4 separate regions of the Homo sapiens genome follow, and regions 1, 3 and 4 are each linked to region 2. Evidence: promoter capture Hi-C in 16 types of primary human blood cells and fetal thymus (Javierre and others, 2016). All regions are on one chromosome and are shown on one strand. The core of a region is centred on a gene start or on the middle of the fragment in contact, and the rest is flanking DNA. Distances in the headings are between cores, read along the strand shown.

Evidence for each region. The method cuts DNA at HindIII sites, captures the fragments that hold promoters and counts their contacts. A CHiCAGO score of 5 or more calls a contact.
Region 1: a contact is called between a fragment that was not itself captured here and the fragment with the promoter of NIT2 in region 2, in 3 of 17 cell types (monocytes, naive B cells and M0 macrophages). The highest score is 5.5, in monocytes.
Region 3: a contact is called between a fragment that was not itself captured here and the fragment with the promoter of NIT2 in region 2, in 2 of 17 cell types (megakaryocytes and endothelial precursors). The highest score is 8.7, in megakaryocytes.
Region 4: a contact is called between a fragment that was not itself captured here and the fragment with the promoter of NIT2 in region 2, in 1 of 17 cell types (total CD8 T cells). The highest score is 5.3, in total CD8 T cells.

What each region holds. Positions count from the first base shown.
Region 1 is chr3:99,850,660-99,854,095 of GRCh38, forward strand. The region is part of intron 1 of CMSS1 (cms1 ribosomal small subunit homolog); the gene reads left to right. FILIP1L (filamin A interacting protein 1 like) reads right to left here. Exons shown (of 6, transcript NM_001387850.1): 5 at 1-411. All of the region lies in intron 1 of LOC105374010 (a long non-coding RNA gene), which reads left to right. Among named protein-coding and RNA genes, the nearest start is that of HP09053, 29 kb to the left of the region's middle. The HindIII fragment of the contact is 1,957 bases long and covers 740-2,696 here.
Region 2 is chr3:100,332,436-100,336,006 of GRCh38, forward strand. NIT2 (nitrilase family member 2) reads left to right here and starts at 2,322. Exons shown (of 10, transcript NM_020202.5): 1 at 2,322-2,363. The coding sequence starts at 2,357. RefSeq lists enhancers at 2,090-2,658, 2,752-2,801, 2,822-2,881, 3,002-3,081 and silencers at 2,322-2,651, 3,050-3,344. The HindIII fragment of the contact is 2,232 bases long and covers 951-3,182 here.
Region 3 is chr3:100,638,965-100,642,566 of GRCh38, forward strand. The region is part of intron 6 of ADGRG7 (adhesion G protein-coupled receptor G7); the gene reads left to right. Among named protein-coding and RNA genes, the nearest start is that of ADGRG7, 31 kb to the left of the region's middle. The HindIII fragment of the contact is 1,192 bases long and covers 1,112-2,303 here.
Region 4 is chr3:100,720,095-100,723,485 of GRCh38, forward strand. The region is part of intron 3 of TFG (trafficking from ER to golgi regulator); the gene reads left to right. Among named protein-coding and RNA genes, the nearest start is that of TFG, 12 kb to the left of the region's middle. The HindIII fragment of the contact is 1,488 bases long and covers 1,398-2,885 here.

The DNA.
Region 1 (3,436 bases), core at 468-2,967, 480 kb before region 2:
TCTTCTAACTCATCAATCTGCCGGCTGAGTGCTGCCAGCTTTTGTTGAAGCTGGCGATTTTGACTGTCCTCATTGGTGAGCTTCGCCATAATTGTGTCTTGGTCTTGGTGAAACTTTGTGGTCTGCGTTTGCAGTTCCTTCTCTAGTCTGGTTGCCTTCTGCTCTTCCTCCTGAACTCTGGCTTCAGCAAGGGCTAGTTTGGTATGTGTTTCCTTTGCATTTGTGGTCAGCTCTTGGATTTTCTGTCTTTGAAGGGTGAGCTGTGCCGTCAGCCTTTGCTGTTCATCCACCACCATCAAAGCAAAAGACTTCAGCTTGGTCAGCTCCTCTTTCAGGGTGGTGACCCTTTTCTCCTTTTCTTGCTCCTTCTCCTCCTGAGACTTGATTTCTTGATCAATTAGCTTCTTTAATCTGAAAAATGTAAAGTGCATTTTATTTTGTGATTGATGCTTTAGTAACTCATCGAATGTACTTAAATATATATGTAATTTAGAAATTATGTAATTATATGAGCTGTGTCAGTTCATATACAATATGCAAAAGAGTTCCTGAATTTGATGACAGAGGAAAATCTTGATAAAGTTATCTTGCTTTTTTATTTGACTACCATTGATCAGTAACAGCTGCATTTCACCAGGAGCCTTAGTAAAAGAGTAAGGGCAAGAATATTTAGTTTAAATTGCTTGGGTAACATGTAATTAGTAGGCAGTCTGGCCTGAAGGCTGTGAAAATAGCCACAAGCTTGAGATGATGCAGTTAGACCTGGCTTCAAGGCCGACCCTACTCTTACCAACTAATTGATCTGGGCAGTTATTTAACATCTCTGAGCCTCAATTTCCTCATATGAAAAATGGGGGCAATAATTTTATTTACTTCAGGGGCTTTTTATGAAAATTAAATGCGGTAATTCATCTAAGATTCTCATTGTCCTGGCACATGGTAAGCATTTGGTATTAGTTGTTGCTGCTGTCTTTATTAATATGGTTATTATATTTATCAAATGGCTTGCTTGAACCAAAGTGTTCAATTAATGTTTGATGTTCAAGTCCTTGATTCTTAGTTAAGAAAAAATTTAGTCACATTGCTTAGAAGTTATGCACTTCACTGATAGACCTCTGTGCCAATTAAAACTTGGTTTGCACTAGCACAACATTATTCTAGGAACTACTTCACATATATCTTATCCTCATAGTGGATAGCAATTAAATGAGGAGAATTGAGAGACATCTGTATGGGTTTGGTGTTTTCATAACATTTGAGAAGAGCATGCGGTTTGGTAGGAAAGTGCTTATTGATGAGAGTCTGATGCTAGACATGACAGAAGAGAAACTCTGTTATCAGGAACATAATAATTCCCTCTTAAATGATGACTACTATGACATGCTATTTTCTTCTTTTATGTTTTAAATTTGTCAGCATAACAGGAGGGTATTTTACATGTAGTATAAACTATCTCTTCCACTTAAGTAGTGAGGTCAAAGTTTTAAATTTGTGGCACTCTCAATTATACTGCGAATGGGCTGATTATAGAGGATGTAATTACAGCTTTGCAGTACTGTTATACAGAAGCTAAAATAGAATGGAATCCCTAAGGAATTGAACCAAAGGACTTGTCATGGATGAAGTTATGACTACTTACATTCTGATAGGTATAGAGAATTCATAAAACTTTAATGTATCTTTTCTATTAGGAATGAGTTAATTATCAAATGCATGTCTATCATCCTTATCACAGAACTTACTTTTTGAAAGTTGTGTAAGGATTTGAGAGAACTTTTTATTTATTTTATTTTATTTTATTTTTTGAAATTGAGTCTCACTCTGTCGCCAGGCTGGAGTGCAGTGGGGCGATCTCGACTCACTGCAACCTCTGACTCCCTGGTTCAAGCAATTCTCCTGTCTCAGCCTCCCGAGTAGCTGGGATTATAGGCACGCACCACCACGCCCAGCTAATTTTTGTATTTTTAGTAGAGACAGGGTTTCACCATGTTGGCCAGGATGGTCTCGATCTCCTGACCTTGTGATCCACCTGCCTCGGCCTCCCAAAGTGCTGAGATAACAGGTGTGAGCCACCGTGCCGGCTGAGAGAACATTTTAAAAGGAAACTAATTTAGGGTCATCGTCTTGGAAATTGAGTCCTTCTTTTTGAGATTCTAATCTGCTCTTTTCTGTAATTTTCTGTAATTACATTCCATAGGAGGAACATGTTGAAAATAATTGTATAAGAATTCTGCATCTTTTTTGTGGGAGTCCACTTTTAGTTTTTTCTGTTTTGAGAACTTAACAGGAGGCTGGCCCAAGGGCTGTGGCTTATAAAATTCAGAAGATGCTAGGCAGGATGCTGGGGTGTCGTTGATGATGATCTCATCCAAGGTCTTGGCAAAAGGCTTGCCCATGGTTTCTGGCCATGCCCCATCCCTATCTGAGACACATGAGAGCCTGAAAAGATAAGCATAGCAGCTTCTTCTCAAATGGTCATGGGACTTCTCAACCCAGTGGCAGAGTCCATGGGTAAACTGCTTTGGTGGTGAAATAGTTAAAAAAAACTTTGGCAAAGTGCTTCTTTCTCCTGCCTTAGCATTAGAATTCATTCGATGTAATGGTTTTGACAATGCCTTGAGCATAATTACAGTGAAATATTTTTCCCCTCTCTACACCACAGTTCTTACAGTTTTATTAGAGAACAGTTTCACAAAAGCTTTTAAATATTTATTTTCAACTTATTAAATTATAGCATGTGCTATGTCATTTTTATGAGAAGGGGGTGTGTTTTCTTAGGATATAAGGGAGGGAAGATTGTTTTGCAGTATAATTAAAAGAGTATTAAAAGGGAATGGTGATTAGTGAGTGCAGTGCAGTAACCTGCAAAAAAGGTTTAGAAAAAAATTCAGTTGCTTCCATTTTGTTCAGTGTTTTTGGAGTAGGCATGATGCATATTTTTCAGCCTGGGGCATGTTGCGTATTTTTCAGCATGATGCAAACATAAGCATCTTTTTCATGGTTTTTGTAAATTAGTTGGCATCCCCATCTGTTCCCCAAGTTCTGTCTGATTATTTGAATGCATTTTCTCTAAGCATTTCCTTACTACTTGTTTTCCAATAACCTGCTATTTTCTTGGGCCACTCTCATGAGCGCACCATAGGACAGTCAGCTGTCTAGTCTAGTAAAGCCTGTCGGGAAGGTAAACAAGAATTTATATGCAGAAAAAACTATACCCATAGCCATCAACTTGGGAGCTCAGGACAAGGAACCAGTGAGAACTGAGAGCAGGAGGCCCTGATGGAATCTTTTCAGAGCCAGTTGCTTGCGTGTAATGCTGTTACACATTGTGTGGTTGTACATGTGTGTCAGAGAGAGGGAAAGACAGCTGGTTATGCTACTGAATTTGAAGGAATTAGCACTTCTGATAGTGATGAATGGTCCACCCTAAATCGTT
Region 2 (3,571 bases), core at 1,072-3,571:
CTCTCTCTCTCTTTTTTTTTTTAATGGAGTCTGGCTCTGTCACCCAGGCTGGTGTGCAGTGGCACAATCTCGGCTCACCGCAACATTCGCCTCCCAGGTTCAAGTGATTCTGCTGTCTCAGCCTCCTGAGTAGCTGGGATTACAGGTGTGTGCCACCACGCCCAGCTAATTTTTGCATTTTTAGTAGAGACGGGGTTTCACCATGCTGGTCAGGCTGGTCTCGAGCTCCTGACCTCTTGATCCACCTGCCTCCACCTCCTGAAGTGCTGGGATTATGTTAATTATTAAATCTAGGAGGAGGACACAGCTGTTCCTCCACCAGGCAGTGGCGCCCGGCCTGGTCCTTCTCCTCTAATGGCTCCTTCCCAGGCTCCACAGGCCCTTCTTCTTTTGCGTGTGCCTTTCATACTCCGCTTGTGTGTTCTCATCCAAATTCAGAGCTTCCTCTTAGTTAAAACTGCTGGTGACTCCCAAGTCAATTTCCAGCCCAGACATCTTCTGAGCTTGAGGCTTTGGTCCGGTTGCCTACTGGGCATCTCCACCTGGATGCCATGGCTCATGCCTATAAGGCCAGCACTTTTTGAAGCCAAAGTGGGAGGATCACTTGAGCCTAGGAGTTTGAGACCAGCCTGGGCAACACTGTAAGAATCCACTTCTAAAAAAATGAAATAATTTGCATTTTGAACAAGCACTTCAAATAACATTTCCAGCCAGGTTTAGGACCACTATTAGTTACAATGTTAGTCCAATAAATTTGGAAATCTAGATGAATTTTTTTAACAGGTTGTAAGTGACCACAGGTTGACCCTGAAACCTCATAGGTTAATAAGCATAGCAGAAATGAAAAGGTTTTTAAAGATCTTCCTGCTACAAAGCCAAGTCCAGATAGTCTCTTAAGCTGCAGAAAGACCATAACTGCTATGTATTTCCCCCCAATTTTTTTTTATGAAAGCTTAAAATTTTAAACTTCTACAAAGTTTTAATCTAGTACCATGAACAGCTGTGTCCTCCTCCTAGATTTAATAATTAACATTTTGCCATATTTGCTTTATCTTATGTGTTTTCTTTTTGCTGACGATTTTCAAGTCAAACATTCTGATGGTTCATCCCTAATACTTCCTCATTTTCTAAGAGTAAAGAATTGTCACAAGCACAACACTATAGCACACAAAATAATTCAGAAAAGCATCAAATATCTCGTTCATATTTAAATCTCCCTAGTTGCCCCCAAAATGTTTTTATAGTGTTCTTTTACAAACCAAGATCTGTTTCAGTATAAACTATTCTGGGGCATTCCAAAAGGTGGTTAAGTTTTGGATTTTTGTTCCACAAGTCTGACAAGGCACAAAAACACAAAACACGAAAATTAAAAAGCAATCTAATAAATAAAAATGCAAAAATCATAGTCTATAGGCTGGGCGCAGCAGCTCACGCCTATAATTCCAGCACTTTGGGAGGCTAAGGCAGTAGGGTCTTGAGCTCAGGAGTTTGAGACCAGCCTGGGCAAAATAGCAAGGCCCCACCTCTATTAAAAGTAAAAAACTTAAAAAAAAAAAAAAAAGAAAGAAAGAAAGAAAAAGAAAAAAGGAAAAGAAATAGCTAGGTGTGGTGGTGTGTGCCTGTAGTCCCAGCTACTTGGGAGGCTGAGGACGGAGGATCGCTTGAGCCGGGAGGTTGAGGCTGCAATGGGCTGAGACTGCTGCACTGCACTCCTGACTGGATGACAGAGTGAGACCCTGTCTAAAACAAACAAACAAAAAAGGATATTAGCAAAGAGATGACAATGTATTCGAGGACTGACTTGTTGAGGGCATGGCGTTGAACCCTCAGCATCTTTCCCGTTGGCCTAGCAGCCTTGTAGTCAGATTTTACAGACGTCTCGCGTGCCTAAACCAACCAGGGTCATTCCGTCCCCGTCACAGAGACTTGTTCAAATAGCTCAAGCCCATCAGCATACGGTGTTAACCTGGCCACAGAGGTGATTCAACCAGCTAGAAGTTCAGTCCTTTTGCGGAGAATCAGCAAACGCTACAAATCAGGGCTTTCCTCCCTGAAAAGTCTGGTTGTTAAGACATTCACCAGCACACCACCTCGACTTAGGCCGTTCCCTTTTGCCCTTTGCCTTTCGAGGCATGCTTTTTCCGGACTGTGTTGCAATTAACCATTTCTCGTTGGTCCGTCCTGGTGTTACAGGCGCACTGGAATGAACGCAGACCCTTCTCTCCTCCCGGCCGGGGCCAGGAGGAGGGGTGGGGCGGGGCCTCTGACGCGGTCCCCGCCCCACCGTAGCGACGCCGCGGTCCGCCGGATCTCCAGCGCTCAGTCCGCGCCGCAGGTGGTGCTTGTCTGCAGAGTCATGACCTGTAAGTGGCGCGGCCGCGCGCTGCAGCTCGAGTTCGGGCCGCGGGGGAGGCTTTGGAGCGGCGCCGGCGGTGGCTCGGCCGGCTCAGCCCCTCCGCCCCGCGTCCCCGCCGTGCGCGGCCTTCCCTGAGGCGGGCGTCCGCGTGGGTCCGGGATCGCGTGGCCGGGCGGCCGGGCGCACTCCCGGGATTCCAGGCTTCCGGGGTGGCGGGCGAGGCCCAGAAAGCACCAGGCCACCCGGCCGCGCCGGCACCCGCCGCGTCCTGCTTGACAGAGGCTGATGGACGTGTATTTCTCCACGGTGTGGGCCGCGGTGGTAGGATCCAACTCCCTTGGGTGTTTTCAAGTTGCGTGACCTCCTCCAGCCCCGCCCTGCACAAAGGTGCCCAGGCGGTTCTTCGTCTCCCCACTCACTTTCCAGCTCCAGATTTTGACTTGGATTCTTGCTGTGTCACTTACTTTGTTCAGTGACTTTGTGCAGCTTTCCCCCTGCAAGTCCCCTGTTTCTTTATTTGTAAAATGATGTTAATGATACCTCACACAATGATGTTAATGTGTGAAGGACCTGGCACATTGCTTTAAATGTTATTCCTTTGTTGTTTCCTTCGCTCACAGTATTTTATTCTTTTTTTCCGCCCCTTGGTAAGGTCTTCGTTGTTAGATTATGATGAATATTAGGGCAGCCTTAAAAGTCTTCACTTTACAGATGAGATGGAGTGACGGGCGTCTCCTCCTCAGCATGAGGAACTGCCCAGTGGCGGGGTTTCCCTGCTGCAGCATGTCTGTAGAGTGGGTCATTTGCAGAATGATAGGCAGTCCTAAGCTTAGTTGAGGACCCCGCCCTTGTGGGTGAGATGTGTAGGAGAGGAAGCCATCAGCGTAGCCATGGTGAGCTTTATCTTTCCCACCCTCGGAAGCACAGACATGGCCCGGCACGTGGCTCACGCCTGTAATCCCAACAGTTTGGGAAGCTGAGGCACGAGGATCGCTTGAGTTCACGAGTCAAGAGTTGGAGACCAGCCTGGGCAACATGGCGACACCTTGTCTGTACTAAAAAATACAAAATTAGCCCGGTGTGGTGGCACGCCCCTTTAGTCCCAAACTACTTGGGAAGCTGAGGAGGGAGAATGGCTTAACGCTGGGAAATGGAGGGGAGACGTTTAGTGGATTTATCTGCTGTTCTGATAACAGCTCAAAATATCTGTTTGCC
Region 3 (3,602 bases), core at 458-2,957, 310 kb after region 2:
TTATTAACCTGTTGGTATATATTCCAGGTTTTTTTCCCTCTGTTTCTGTGTGTGTGTGTGTGTGTGTGTGTGTGTGTGTGTGTGTGTGTGTGTATGTATATGTATATTACATACTATATTGATTCATAACTTGCTTTTGTCACTTAATACCTTACAAACTTTTTTCTGTAAACATCTTTTATATAAATATATACACATCTACATCATAATTTTAGTTTACTGCATTATATGTGTAAACTTTTATTGAACCAGTTCTCTGCTCAGCAACTGGACATTTACATTGCTGGAAGTCTTTTAATGTTCTAAGTAATTAGCATTCTGGTACATAATCTTTATTTACACGACCCATTATTTCCTCAGGAGAAATTCCTAGAAGTAGTTCTTAGTTTTCTAATGATTATGACAAGTACCTACTTAGCGTTGAATTTTCAAAGTAGAAAAAGCACAAAGGCACAAAATAGAGCATTCAAAGATTACAATTCTGAGAGGTGGTTGTAGAGGTTGAGTGAACAGTTTTACTGGCATACTTTGTGACTTCAGATTTCAATAGGAGTCTGGGCCCTTCTCATGGAGAATGTGGATGTCTCTCATTTTTCTTGACATATGAGAAGGAAGTGGCCATGGGGTCCAGAGTCTATGTTCAGTGAACAGAGAGGCCAAGAGCCAGAGTGGGCTCCCTTCAGAGATGAAAGCTTTGTGTTTGCAGATTCTTGCTAGACGGGAGGAATGAACGTTTTTGGTGAGAAAGCTGGGAAAAGAGAAGTTGTGGGATTTGAACATCACAGTTCACAAAAAAGATAGGAACATTTTCCTAAAAATAAATAATTATGAATTTTGCTGACTTAATATATAAAGGAAAATACAATTTTGTGTGATTTTTACACAATATCCAAATAGTTTTAAAGGAGGTGGTTAAAGGATAAATAAAAATTTAAGGTATAAGATACAGTGAACCTTAAAATGGTGTAAGCATGCTCAATTTCTCCTTTTATCACTCTGAATTTCTAGTCCAATTATTTTCTAATAATGTTCCATCAGTTTATCTTCTACCAACGTGATCTTTTGCATAAGCTCTTGTGGACTCAGATCCTTCCTTCATTCACTTAGATAAAGCTTCCTCCTCTGCTTCTAGCCCCAAGGTCAGGTCAACAACCCTTTAGCTCTCTTTAGGAGAATACTCTTGATGAGCTTCCAACAGAGGTCATCTCTCCACGAGAAGGAAATTAATTGTTGTTTAGGACAACATTTGCTTTCCAAACTCTATCTTCTGAACCTAGGCCAGATGCTGGGTTCCCTGACAGACATCAGGCCTTAGTCACCCATTTCACTTTGACTTCTTCCTTCTTTCATTCCAGTTTTCTCTTGGTATCTCTCAGCTACTGAATTGCCTTTCTATAGTATAGGGAGAAGAGGAGAGGGTGAGAATAAAAGGGAGGAGAGTGACAGAGAAGAAAGACTCTTTGACTCTGTCAAAGTGGGCAGAGCTCTGGAGGTGTAGGGTTTCTGCTGGTGAGGGCATCATAGTACAATCAATGAGTTTAGGACTTCACCTCACCATTTTTTTTTCCTTTTTTTGAGACGGAGTCTTGCTCTGTCACCCAGGCTGGAGTACAGTGGCAAGATCTCAGCTCACCACAACCTCTGCCTCCCAAGTTCAAGCAATTCTCCTGTCTCAGCCTCCCTAGTAGTTGGGATTACAGGCATGCACAACCCTGCCCAGCTAATTTTTGTATTTTTGGTAGAGACAGGGTTTCACCATGTTGATCAGGCTAATCTTGAACTCCTGACCTCAGGTGATCCACCTGCTTTGGCCTCCTAGACTGTTGGGGTTATAGGCGTGAGCCACCGCGACGGGCTGACCTCACCATTGTAGACATTGCTTGCATAGTCTGATCTGTAACCTTAGACCTTTGATCTCATATTGAAGGTCATAATTACCCTGGTTTATCTGACTTTGGGAATGCAAAATGCCTCCCTAGCACTGACCACCTGTACATTTACATTTCGCTTTTCTTTTTTTATTTCTGTTCCAGCTAGCCTGGCACCCACTCAAATATCTTGAACAAATAGAGATTTATCGTAAATAGGCATATGGGGTCTCATGGAGGCCCAAGAACTAGATCATAATATAGTGGGCCTTGTCAACCCAAAATAATCAAAAAGGTCAGAATCTAGTTTAAAGAGAGTTCGTTCAAGTGCAAAGTTTAAGGACAGCTGCCTGGGAAGCACAAATTCCAAAAAATGGAAGTCAATGTTTTGAAGTATATAAGTTTGGGATCATTTATATAAACAAAGTTTAGGGAAGCTTAAGAGAGTTTTAACGTCTTTCTATATAAGGCTTTCTATATAAGGCTTATAGTAATGCATGGTTATAGTAATCTGATTAGCTGAGGTGGTCTTTTTCTTTTGGGAAATGTGTATTTAACATTCCACACTGAAGGTGTAACAATTACACTGAAGACGTAACAATCATGAGCTAAATGGTCTGAGTTAGGTACAGGACAAAAAAGGAGGCAATTAATCTGTAACATAGATCAGTCATTAGAAAGGGGAAAGGTCTGGCCTCTCCTAGTCATTTACAGAACAAGAACAATGAGGAAGAGAGTTAATCTATAATCTAATAAGCAGAAGTTGCAAACACGCTACACGTGATTCAGTCTCCAGGGCTTAACTTCCTTTTGACATAATAAATTTAGAGGGTCTTGAAATTTTATTTTCTTTTATTGCCATATGGACCCTGGAGCAGGAAGATGACTGAGGATCCAAGGCAGCTTTGGAAGCCTTAGTAGAGGAGTTTACAGGTCTTTTCTTATTTTCAACAGGAAGAATTAGCCTCTTATTTTTAATTTGTGGTTTTTCTCACAATGATGTAATGACCTCTCTGGCTTCCTCTAAATTATGACTTTCCTGATATAACTACAGCACTAATCAAAAAAAACCCCGTTTCCAAGAATCTGATGACTTATTTTAGTCAATTGTGCCAGGTGGATGACCACTTTCTGGATTGGCTTCTCTGGGGCAGGTGCCCATCTGTAATCTTATCAGTTATGACAAGAGGAGGAAAGAAGTACAAGAAAGAAAAAATGACCTTAGAAGTAGCTATGGTTAGAGCAACCCTGTAAAAGTGGGAACATGAAAAACACCTCCTGTATATCTACCACATCTTTCCTTTTAGCCTGCAAATGCCTGAGGGAGCAGCTCCTGGAACTCCCACTGTTTCACAGAGTGCTGACCTCTACATAGATACTCAACAGATACTGTTTGGTAGAATGATATTCTTAGCAGGTGGGAGTTTTGTTAGGTATTCCTCCCATTGAAAGCAGCTCTGGGGTATGTGTGAATTGCTGAAAATGGTTTTATAAAAGGAAAACATTTCAATCAGAGGATCTAACCTGAATGTTTCCATACGAATGATGATTATGTTCTCTTTATAAAGCAATCCTCAATTATTGTAAACTTTCTTTTTATCTCATTTGGAGGTAGAGAAAAGATATTTTAGTGTCAGAAATAAAGATTTGACATATAGAACAACTACATTTTGATGAAATCCTTTCATTTCTGGAAGAACTAGACTGATTATTTTACATACAGAGGTTTTGTTT
Region 4 (3,391 bases), core at 892-3,391, 390 kb after region 2:
TTCATTGTATTTTAAAGATGTTTGGCTTTTTTCCTTTTAAAGACTCAGGTAAGCAATAACTTATTCAAATATTATTACATTTATTTGTGTTCAGGTAGTTGTTTTAGATTACTTGAAGCTTATGGCTGTGTATGTTTTTAAGAAAATGATAGAAGTTTAATTCAGTAAGAACAGAGTGTTAAGTATGTTTTTTTTGAAATCAGGTATAACTTAGGTATCCCTGGTGCAGTATTATAGTTTTAATTTAGCTGTATTAGAATTTTTAAATTGTAATTATCTTCCTTCACATTACAGTATGTTGTTACTTATTATCAGGGCTTAACATGTAAGTCTGATACTTGAAACCAGTAGTCGCCAACCTTTTTGCACTGGAAACTGGTTTCGTGTAAGACAGTTCTTCTATGGAAGGGGGCAGGAGAAGGTTTGGGGATGAAACTCTTCCACTTTGCATGTGCAATTCACAATAGGGTTCACACTCCTATGTGAATCTAATGCCACTGCTGAACTGACAGGAGGCGGAGCCCACCACTTAACCTCCTGCTGTGCTGCCCAGCCCGGTTTGGTTCCTAACAGGCCACAGAGTAGCACTGGGTTGGGGACCCTTGCTTTAGACAGTATTTCCCGAGGGGTACTTAAAGATTAAAAATAGTTCTGATAAAAACCAATAGAAGACTAATTTTAATCTTTTAGATTTTTTCTTTTAGATCTTAATAGATATGCAAGGCAGAACTCTTAAGGGACAAGATAGAAAAGATTACAGAGTTAAATGGTAGTGTGATTATGTGAAAAATAAAATGTGTACACTTTTTCCGGCTGTTTTGTTGTTTTGTTTAGCATTAATTTTATTTTTTTTTAATTTTGTTGCATGAAACTTAGAGTTCAGTGTGAAATATGATCATGGTCTATTGATTTAATTTGTATCTATTTCATCTCCATCTAGGAAGGATGAATATGAATAATCAGAATTTAAATGTTAATAACAAAAACTGTTTAAAATTATTTAAAATAAAGGTATCTTTTTACAGTATTGAATGTAAAATACTTAACTATTGACTAGGCATAAAGCAGATTAGATAATCTGAAGACCCTTACTTTAAACAGGATCTGCTAGATAAACTTACAAATGTGTTTTCTGAATTCTGTAACTCAGCTTGCACAGGAAAGTAAGGGAAATATCCAGGGAACAAAAAAGTAGAGGGAACTAAAGGCCTGATGTACCAAAAGCTGAAACTTGGGGTGTTCTTGGTGGTGATAGTAGAGATTTTAGCCTGCATAATTTAAGGAATTGCCATCTGGTGTCTACATGGTGTAGGCCCTTGGTCCTAGTCCCTCAGTAGGCCATGCTTTCAAAAAGAATATTTTAGAAAAGTCTACCTTGATACAGGGAAAGTCAAGGAAGCTTAACTCTTATACCTTGGGCCGTCAGGGGCTTGGGAAGTCTCCCTTCAGGATTCATAATTGTGGTCCTTAGGTGAGTTGGGTTTAAATTTAAACTATCCATGTAGTTTGGTAACTCCCAAGCCCAGATGTTACCATTTTAGAAAAATCTCAGAAGAAAGGCCAAAATCTCTCTTGAGGGGTATATTCTCAATCCAGGTCACATAGGTTTCTCACAGACAAAACCGTAAGACACATGAAGCTGTCAGGTAAGCAAGAACCACTGGACACAACTAATAGCAGGATTAGATTTTCAACAACTTCAGTTAAGATATGTGATAGTCTACAAAATTAAAAGTTATTTAAGACATAGAAGAAGGAATAAGAATATAAAAGCAGCCGGCCGTGGTGGCTCACGCCTGTAATTCCAGCACTTTGGGAGGCCAAGGCGGGCGGATTGCCTGAGTGCAGGAGTTCGCGACCAGCCTGAGCAACACGGTAAAACCCTATCTCTACTGAAATGCAAAAAATTAGCCAGCTGTAGTGGTGTGTGCCTGTAGTCCCAGCTACTTGAGAGGCTGAGGCAGGAGAATTGCTTGAACCTGGGAGGTGGAGGTTGCAGTGAGTCGAGATCGCGCCACTGCACTCCAGCCTGGGTGACAGAGTGAGACTCCATCTCAGAAAAAACAAAACAAAACGAGAACATAAGAGCAAGATGCTATTGTATTATGGAAAAACAATAAACAGATTTTATAAAGAACTTAAAGTAACTTGGAAATGAGAAATATAATCATTGAAATTAAATACTAAGTGGATAGGTTAAACACATTAGTCATAGCTAAAAAGAGAATTAGTGAACTGAAAAGGAAATCCAAAGAAATTACAGAGTAAAGCACAAAAACACAGGCAAAAGAGAAGTTGAAAATGAGAACATCCAGAATATTTCTATTCAGAGTTTCAAGAAGGAGAGAATGGGAGAGTGGAAATACATTGAGGTAATGACTAAAGAAATTTTCAGAGTTATATAAAAGCTATAGACCCTCAGATTCAGAAGGCACGGGGAGCCTTGAGCAGGGATAAGTAAAAGTAAATCCCCACTGGACATATTGTCATGAAACTGGAAAATGTCTTAAGACAGAGAGATTACCTTAAAAGTAGCCAGAGAGAATAAGACTGATCACATATGAAACAATTAGACTGTTAGTAGACTTCTTCATAGTAATAATAGAGGCTAAAAGACAGTATTATCACAGTTGCAAACAGTAAAGAAAAATAACTAGAAAAGTAGCATCCTATACTCCACTAAATTTCACGAATGAGGAGAAGTAAAAATACTTTGAAAGACTGAGAATTTACCACTCATGGACCCTTGTTAAAATAATTTTTAACAGTGGTCTTCATCAAGAAGGAAATTTAGTCCAGAAGGTGGTGAAAGATGCAAGAAGCAATGTGAGCAGATAAACTGTTGCTTGGTCAGTAGGCTATGCTTTCAAAAACTATTTTAGAAAAGCTTTTCCATTGATACAGAAAAAGTCAAGGAAGCTTAACTCTTAAACCTTGGGCTGTCAGGGGATTGGGAAGCACCAATGAAATTTATGTGTACGTTTTAATGAGCATTGATTGTTACAAAATTAATAGTCTTAGGGAATAAAAACAATTTGGGACAAAAATACTGGGCAATAATATGTAAGAAAGGAAGGGATGATAGGAATAAAAATATTTTAAGGACTTATTTGGGAGGAACATTGTAATTACCTTTAGATTTTTTTAATTGCATACTACATATGCAGAAGTATGCATGGTGTACATGTAAGAGTTATAATTGAAAAATTAGACATTGTCAGGAAAGGAGAAAAAAAGAAAACAAGGGTACCTGTTCAGTTCAGTAGAAAGTGGTGGCGGAATAAAAGAGGTAGAAAGCTCAATAGATAGAACAGAATACTAATCACAGTACACAGAAATTGACTACATATATCGGTTAAAATAATCTCTTAATGGAATTTTAAAAAAAATC